Linked DNA regions of Homo sapiens: region 2 is linked to region 1. Evidence: promoter capture Hi-C in human tissues and cell types (Jung and others, 2019). All regions are on one chromosome and are shown on one strand. Each heading gives the region's core, a stretch centred on a gene start or on the middle of the fragment in contact. The rest is flanking DNA. Distances are from core to core; before and after follow the strand shown. Region 1 holds the start of PSMB10 (proteasome 20S subunit beta 10). Region 2 overlaps PSKH1 (protein serine kinase H1).

Region 1 (3,506 bases), core at 731-3,230:
GTGGCGGGCGCCTGTGGTCCCAGCTACTCGGGAGGCTGAGGCAGGAGAATGGCGTGAACCCGGGAAGCGGAGCTTGCAGTGAGCCGAGATTGCGCCACTGCAGTCCGCAGTCCGGCCTGGGCGACAGAGCGAGACTCCGTCTCAAAAAAAAAAAAAGACTTGGGTTTGACTTGATTGAGCCCAGGAGTTCGAGACAAGCCTGGGCAATATAGTGAGACCTCATCTCTACAAAAATTTTAAAAATTAGCCTGGTGCGGTGGCTCATGCCTGTAATCCCAGCACTCTGGGAGGCCGAGGTGGGCGGATCACTTGAGGTCAGAAGTTTGAGACCACCCTGACCAACATGGAGAAACCCCGTCTCTACTAAAAATACAAAATTAGCCGGGCATGGTGGCGCATGCCTGTAATCCCAGCTACTCGGGAGGCTGAGGCAGGAGAATTGTTTGAACCTGGGAGGTGGACGTTGCGGTGAGCCAAGATCACACTATTGCACTCCAGCCTGGGCAACAAGAGCAAAACTCCGTCTCAAAAAAAAAAATTTATTTTTAAATTAGCCAGGTGTAGCCACAGCTGTAGTCAAATCTACTAGGCAGGCTGAGGTGGGAGGATTGCTTGAACCTGGGAGGCAGAGGTTGCAGTGAGCCAAGATGGTGCCACGGCATTCCAGCCTGAGCAACAGCAAGACCCTGTGTCCAAAAAAAAAAAAAAAAAAAACCGTAAAATAGGCCAGGCACAGTGGTTCATGGTTATAAGCCTAGCACTTTGGAAGGCTGAGGAGGGTGGATCGCCTGAGCTCAGGAGTTCAAGACCAGCCTGGGCAACACGGTGAAACCCCATCTCTACCAAAAAAAAAAAAAAAAAAAAAAATTAGCCAGGCATGGTGGTGTGTGCCTGTGGTCCCAGCTACTCAGGAGGCTGAGGTGGAAGAGTGCTTGTGCCTGGGAGGCAGAGGTTCCAGTGAACCGAGATCACACCATTGTACTCCAGCCTGGGCAACAGAGTAAGACCCCATCTCAAAAAAAAAAAAAAAAAATTAAGATAAACCCTTTGGCAGCTGCGTGCTGCTCTTAGCCTCAAACCCAAGTCTTTTTTTTCCCCCTTTGAGACGGGGTCTATTGCCCAGGCTGGAGTGCAATGGTATGATCCATACTCACTGCAGCCCCGAACTCCTGGGCTTCCAAAGTGCTGGGATTACAGGTGTGAGCCACCAGGCCCAGACTGCTGAAGGGTTTAAACCAGAGAAAGAATGTGACCAGATTTCCAATTTAGAAAGACCCGCTCTCTGCAGGGTAAGGAGTAGCCTGGGGGTCGGGGGGCGGGGGGCAAGAATTGCAAGGTAACCAGGGAGGCCAGTGCAATGTCCAGGTGGGAGAGGATGCTAGCTGAGACTAGAAGTGCTAGGAAAAGGATGTGTGCAGACAAGAGGTCACTGGGGAGGTGAAATAACAAGGCTTGGCCATGAGTGGAACCCAACACCCATGGTGCCCTCTTGAGAGAGGGAAGATGGCACCTGAGATGGAAGATGGAAAGACCAGGGTCCCTGTGACTGAGGACTGAGCCTCTGTTTGAGGTTTTTGCAGAGGAGTAAAGGCAACAAAAGAGGCAAGAGTTGGAAGAAAGGTGACAAGGAACAAAAGTCAGCTATGCCTGATGCTACTGGGTGGCCAGCAACAATGCTGACTTGGCCAAGGCTCTGAGAGCTTTACTATGCTGGGACTGGAGGTCAGAGTTGAGGCTAGGGTAAGAGCAAGGGGCTCAGATGGAGGGGGAGGAGGACCTGAACAAGTCCAGAAGGGAAGAGATTTGTCCCTCTATCCAACAGAGTACCCAGTGAGCAGCACAGAGGGCACAGCAAGGGACATCACCCGGTTCCCCAAATGCTCAGAGCCACAAGTGAAGCCAAAAGTGAAAGACAAGATGCAGAAAACCGCCACGGGCCTTTGAGGAAGGGTAAAGGCGAAAGCGAAAGCAGGAAGTACAGACGTGAAGCCTAGCAGAGGACTTTTTAGCTGCTCACTGGCCCCGCTTGTCTGGCCGACTCATCCGCCCGCGACCCCTAATCCCCTCTGCCTGCCCCAAGATGCTGAAGCCAGCCCTGGAGCCCCGAGGGGGCTTCTCCTTCGAGAACTGCCAAAGGTGAAGCGGGGGCGCGGGGGGCGGTCACTCCTGAGCCGCCTCTGCTTGCTCGTGGCCTTTTTTCCTGGCTGGGGGTGGGGGAGGGTGTGTTGGTCGACTTGGGTTCCAGGCTTACCCCGGAAGATGAGGGAGACGGGGACCAGGTTAGGGGAAGCAACAGGGGTCTTGAAAGCAGAGCCGAAACATGGGCGCCCTCCTCCGTTTCCAGAAATGCATCATTGGAACGCGTCCTCCCGGGGCTCAAGGTCCCTCACGCACGCAAGACCGGGACCACCATCGCGGGCCTGGTGTTCCAAGTGAGCAGCGGGGAGGGACGGGGAGCTGGAGGGGAGCCGAGAGTATCGAGCAGGCACTGAAGCTGCGGTCCCTCCCTCTCCTCAGGACGGGGTCATTCTGGGCGCCGATACGCGAGCCACTAACGATTCGGTCGTGGCGGACAAGAGCTGCGAGAAGATCCACTTCATCGCCCCCAAAATCTAGTGAGACTCCCGAGCCCAGTTCCCGTACGCAAAAAAGAACGGCCCCCTCGTTCCCACTCCGGTCCCCGCACGTCCCAGCCCTGCCCACACCGATCCTCCCTTTTGCCTCAGCTGCTGTGGGGCTGGAGTAGCCGCGGACGCCGAGATGACCACACGGATGGTGGCGTCCAAGATGGAGCTACACGCGTTATCTACGGGCCGCGAGCCCCGCGTGGCCACGGTCACTCGCATCCTGCGCCAGACGCTCTTCAGGTGCGGGGGCAGGGCTAACAGGACCCCGGCAGGGGTAGTTACGGGGTTGGGGCCATTGGAAGGCGGGACAGAAAGAAGGGCGGGACCGCGACGGGCCAGGTGACCGGAAGAGGCCGGCCCAAGAGAACCTGGGCTACAGGAAAAGGCGATGTCAGTCATCGGGCGCCAGCCCACAGGAAGGGGCGGGGATAGCACCTAGGAGCTGGGCATAGAGAGGTGGGGCCTAGGCCCCAGCTTGTGGCCGACCCCGCCCATCCTCGAGCAGGTACCAGGGCCACGTGGGTGCATCGCTGATCGTGGGCGGCGTAGACCTGACTGGACCGCAGCTCTACGGTGTGCATCCCCATGGCTCCTACAGCCGTCTGCCCTTCACAGCCCTGGGTGAGCGCTTCTGTCCCTTCTCCTCGAACTCTGCCCCTGTGACCTTGGCCTCACTCCAAACGGCGTCGCAGCGGTTGACTTCAGATGCTTCTCCTGCCTTCAGGCTCTGGTCAGGACGCGGCCCTGGCGGTGCTAGAAGACCGGTTCCAGCCGAACATGACGGTGAGCGGCCTCTGTCCCCGACTTTGTGGTCGCTGGTGGGATGTGCACCCGGGAGCTGGGGGAGCACAGGACCCTGGCCCAGTGCGGGTGGCTAAG
Region 2 (3,791 bases), core at 1,070-3,569, 35 kb after region 1:
TTGGGTGGAAGGAAGAATGAGGACAGCACCCCGTCCCTTGCACAGCTCAGCGGCAAGTGGTCAGGAGTGTAGCAAGAAGCACAGATTTGGGAAGCAGTGGAAAGAGTTCAGTTTTGGATGTGTGGGGTGCATGTAGACCATCCATGTGACATTTACTGTGGGTTACTAGATACAGAATCTGATGTCTGGGGAGGCTGAGACAGGAGAATCGCTTAAACCTGGGAGGCGGAGGTTGCAGTGAGCTGAGACTGTGCCACTGCACTCCAGCCTGGGCAAAAGAGCAAGACTCCATCTCAAAAAGAGAGAGAGAGGAAAAAATGAGGTTTATCTATGGGGCATAGTGGCTCATGCCTGTAATCCCAGCACTTTGGGAGGCCAAGGCGTGAGGACTACTTGAGTCCAGGAGTTCAAGACCAGCCTGGGCAACACAGAAAGACCCTATCTCTGCCAAACATTTTTTAAATTGAGTCAGACATGGTGGCATGTGCCTGTGATCCCAGCTACTTAGGAGGCTAGGGTGGGAGGATCTGCTTCAGTCCAAGAGGTTGAGGTTGCAGTGAGCGGTGATGGTACCACTATATTCCAGCCTGGGAGACAGAAATCCTGTCTGAAAAACAAAGCAAAACCAAACCAAACCAAAAAAAAATATTGTTTATTTTTCTTCACATAAGAGGAAAAGATTCCTCCACAAGGCTCTTCAGGATTTGCAGCTGTTCTCACCCAAATGCACAGGAAGTTCCACATGGCAACTAGGAAATAATGTTAAACAAAGGCATTTAGAACCAAGGTTCCTTTTCGCAGAGGCCACAGGATAGAACTACGGACTGTGGAATTTTGCAGACTTATTTCTTCTTTCAGGGAAAACACAACACCTCATGCAGTGAAGGACTGAAGCTCCTCTTGGGCTGGTATTCCTGAGGCAGAACACAGGTCCCTCACCCCGATGCCCACGACCACTCAGTAACAACATCTACCACCATTCGGAGGCAAGACAAACTGCATGAGTAACCCAGCACAGCCACTCAGATGTCACTTCTTCCTGGTGAAGAAGCAGAACCCTAGATTCACAAAATAAACAGTCATCTACAGGCACATGTACTGGGTATTTTTGTTTAAATTTTTGTTTAAATGAGGACCTAGTCTGGTCCTCAGGGAAAAACCTAAGGTTTATAAAAGAAAAGGCCTGGCTGGGCGCAGTGGCTCAGGCCTGTAATCCCAGCACTTTGGGAGGCTGAGGTGGGCGGATCACAAGGTCAAGAGTTTGAGACCAGCCTGACCAACATGGGTGAAACCCCGTCTCTACTAAAAATACAAAAATTAGCCCCGGACGTGATGGCACGCGCCTGTAATCCCAGCTGCTCAGGAGGCTGAGGTAGGAGAATCGCTTGAACCAGGGAGGCTGCAGTGAGCCGAGATCGCACCACTGTACTCCAGCCTGGGTGAGAGATCGAGACTGTCTCAAAAAAACAAAAAACAAAAGGTCTAACTTTTCGATTCATTTTTATTTCTTTTTTTTTTTTTGAGATGGAGTCTCGCTTTATCACCTAAGTTGGCGTGCAGTGGCACGATCTCAGCTCACTGCAACCTCCACTTCCCAGGTTCAAACAATTCTCGTGCCTCAGCCTCCCAAGTAGCTGGGACTACAGGCATGTGCCACCATGCTTGGTTAATTTTTGTATTTTTAGTAGAGACAGGGTTACAACACATTGGCCAGACTGGTCTTAAACTCCTGGCCTCAAGTGATCCGCCCACCTCCGCCTCCTAAAGTGTTGGAATTACAGGTGTGAGCCACTGCACCCGGCCTCACTTTTCACTTTAAACAAATAAAACCTACAGGGATCAAAGGTAAGTCAGCATCAGGGCGCAGTGGTTTACACTGTGATCCTAGCACTCTGGGAGGCCAAGGTGGGAGGATTACTTGAGCCCTGGAGTCTGAGACCAGCCAGGGCAATGTAGTGAGACCTCCATCTCTACAAAAAATTAGTCAGGCGTGGTGGCATGCACCTGTAGTCCCAGATACTCAGGAAGCTGAGGTGGAGGATAGCTTGAGCCAGGGAAGTCGAGGCTGCAGTGTGCTGTGTTTGTGCTATGGCACTCCAGCCTGGGCAACAGAGCAAGACCATGTCTCCAAAAAAAAAAAAAAAAATAGGCTGGGCATGGTGGCTCACGCCTGTAATCCTAGCACTTTGGGAGGCCAAGGCAGGTGGATTGCCTGAGCTCAGGAGTTTGAGCCAGCCTGGGCAACACGGTGAAACCCCGTCTCTACTAAAATACAAAAAAAATTAGCCAGGCGTGGTGGCATGAGCCTGCAGTCGCAGCTACTCAGGAGGCTGAGGCAGGAGAATTGCTTGAACCCAGGAGGCGGAGGTTGCAGTGAGCTGAGATCGCGCCACTGCACTCCAGCCTGGGCGATAGAGCGAAACTCCGTCTCTTAAAGAAAGAAAGAAAACAAAATAAAGTCAGTCGGCAATAAGAGAGTCAATGATTTTCCCTCTGATCTTCCTTCTGTCTTCCTGAGACATAGTTTCTCTCACATTGATTCCAATCAGAAACTCTGTAAAGATAGGCTGATGCGGGTACTCCACCATCCCAACTACAGATTGAAACTGGAGGATATTAGACCAAATTGGCCAAGAGAGGGGAAAAAAAAAAGAAAGTAGAGAAGAGAGGGTGCTGGCTGAGAGGTGGGGACAATGGGCAACAGCCCCCAGGTGATCACAGCTGCTCCACAGTCCCATCACATCTGTTAAACTCCCTCTCCACACTGTGGTCAGGTGAAAATGCAGACTCTATAACACGGGAGGTGGCTGGTAAAGCTCCTAGGAAGAAGAGCAGAGCCTTTTCCTGTTCCCAGCATCTCTTGTGTGTGCCCCTAGCCCAGAGATCACGGTAGGTGTAGGGATGGGCAAGGATGAGTAAGGAAGCTTCAGGAAGAGACTTCCCAGGAGTGTCACAGTATGTCATCTTGCAGAAAGTACCCAACTCTCTAGAGTCTGCCTCCAAAACTTAAACTCCCAGCCTGGTCCAAAGCACTCTTCAAAGAAGGCACGCACATTGGACAGAGTGTGGCAATGGGTATGAGCATTCAGCATTATCGTCCTCACTGACAATCTACAGAAATGACAGTCCAGGAGAGGTAAAGAGACTCGTCCAAAGCCACTCAGACGGTGGTGACCAAATATCCTGGACCCAAATATCCTAGTTCCCCATCTGGGGCTCCTTCTATCACTCCGGAAAGACTCCAGCAGTGCTGGGCCTCATCCAGTCAAGGCCTTGATCCTTCCCCATGCCACTGAGTTGGTGAACCCACAAAGCTTTCCTGAGGATCTTTCCTGAAGGGTCTGCTTTAGAAACCTCCATTCCAACTATAATCTGAGTCACACTGCTCACTGCTCTACTCCAGACTGCCTTTGATCACTACAGCTGTCAGACCCTTGAGGGAAGGGGCCATTCTCAGGTTTCCAGAACTCCCTTGGTACTTATCAAATTGCTGAACTCAGAGCAAATGAAATGTGGTCTGGCCGGGCGCAGTGGCTCACGCCTATAATCACAGCATTTTGGGAGGCCAAGGCAGGTGGATCACCTGAGGTAAGGAGTACAAGATCAGCCTGGCCAACATGGTGAAACCCATCTCTACTAAAAATACAAAAAAATTTCCTGGGCATGGTAGTGGGCACCTGTAATCCCAGCTACTCAGAAGCTGAGGCAGGAGAATCATTTGACCCTGGGAAGCAGAGGTTGCAGTAGGCTGAGATCATGCCACTGCACTCCAGCCTAAGCGACAGGGCAGC

Evidence for each region. The method cuts DNA at HindIII sites, captures the fragments that hold promoters and counts their contacts. A contact is called where the count stands out against the background at its distance.
Region 2: a contact is called between a fragment that was not itself captured here and the fragment with the promoter of PSMB10 in region 1, in 1 of the 25 tissues and cell types used here (ovary).

The regions. Positions count from the first base shown.
Region 1 is chr16:67,935,324-67,938,829 of GRCh38, reverse strand. PSMB10 (proteasome 20S subunit beta 10) reads left to right here and starts at 1,980. Exons shown (of 8, transcript NM_002801.4): 1 at 1,980-2,136; 2 at 2,345-2,432; 3 at 2,518-2,615; 4 at 2,727-2,867; 5 at 3,133-3,248; 6 at 3,352-3,410. The coding sequence starts at 2,081. RefSeq lists enhancers at 1,801-2,050, 2,301-2,580, 2,871-3,060, 3,211-3,410. The HindIII fragment of the contact is 5,569 bases long and covers 1-2,951 here.
Region 2 is chr16:67,899,990-67,903,780 of GRCh38, reverse strand. The region is part of intron 1 of PSKH1 (protein serine kinase H1); the gene reads right to left. Among named protein-coding and RNA genes, the nearest start is that of PSKH1, 8.6 kb to the right of the region's middle. The HindIII fragment of the contact is 3,472 bases long and covers 584-3,791 here.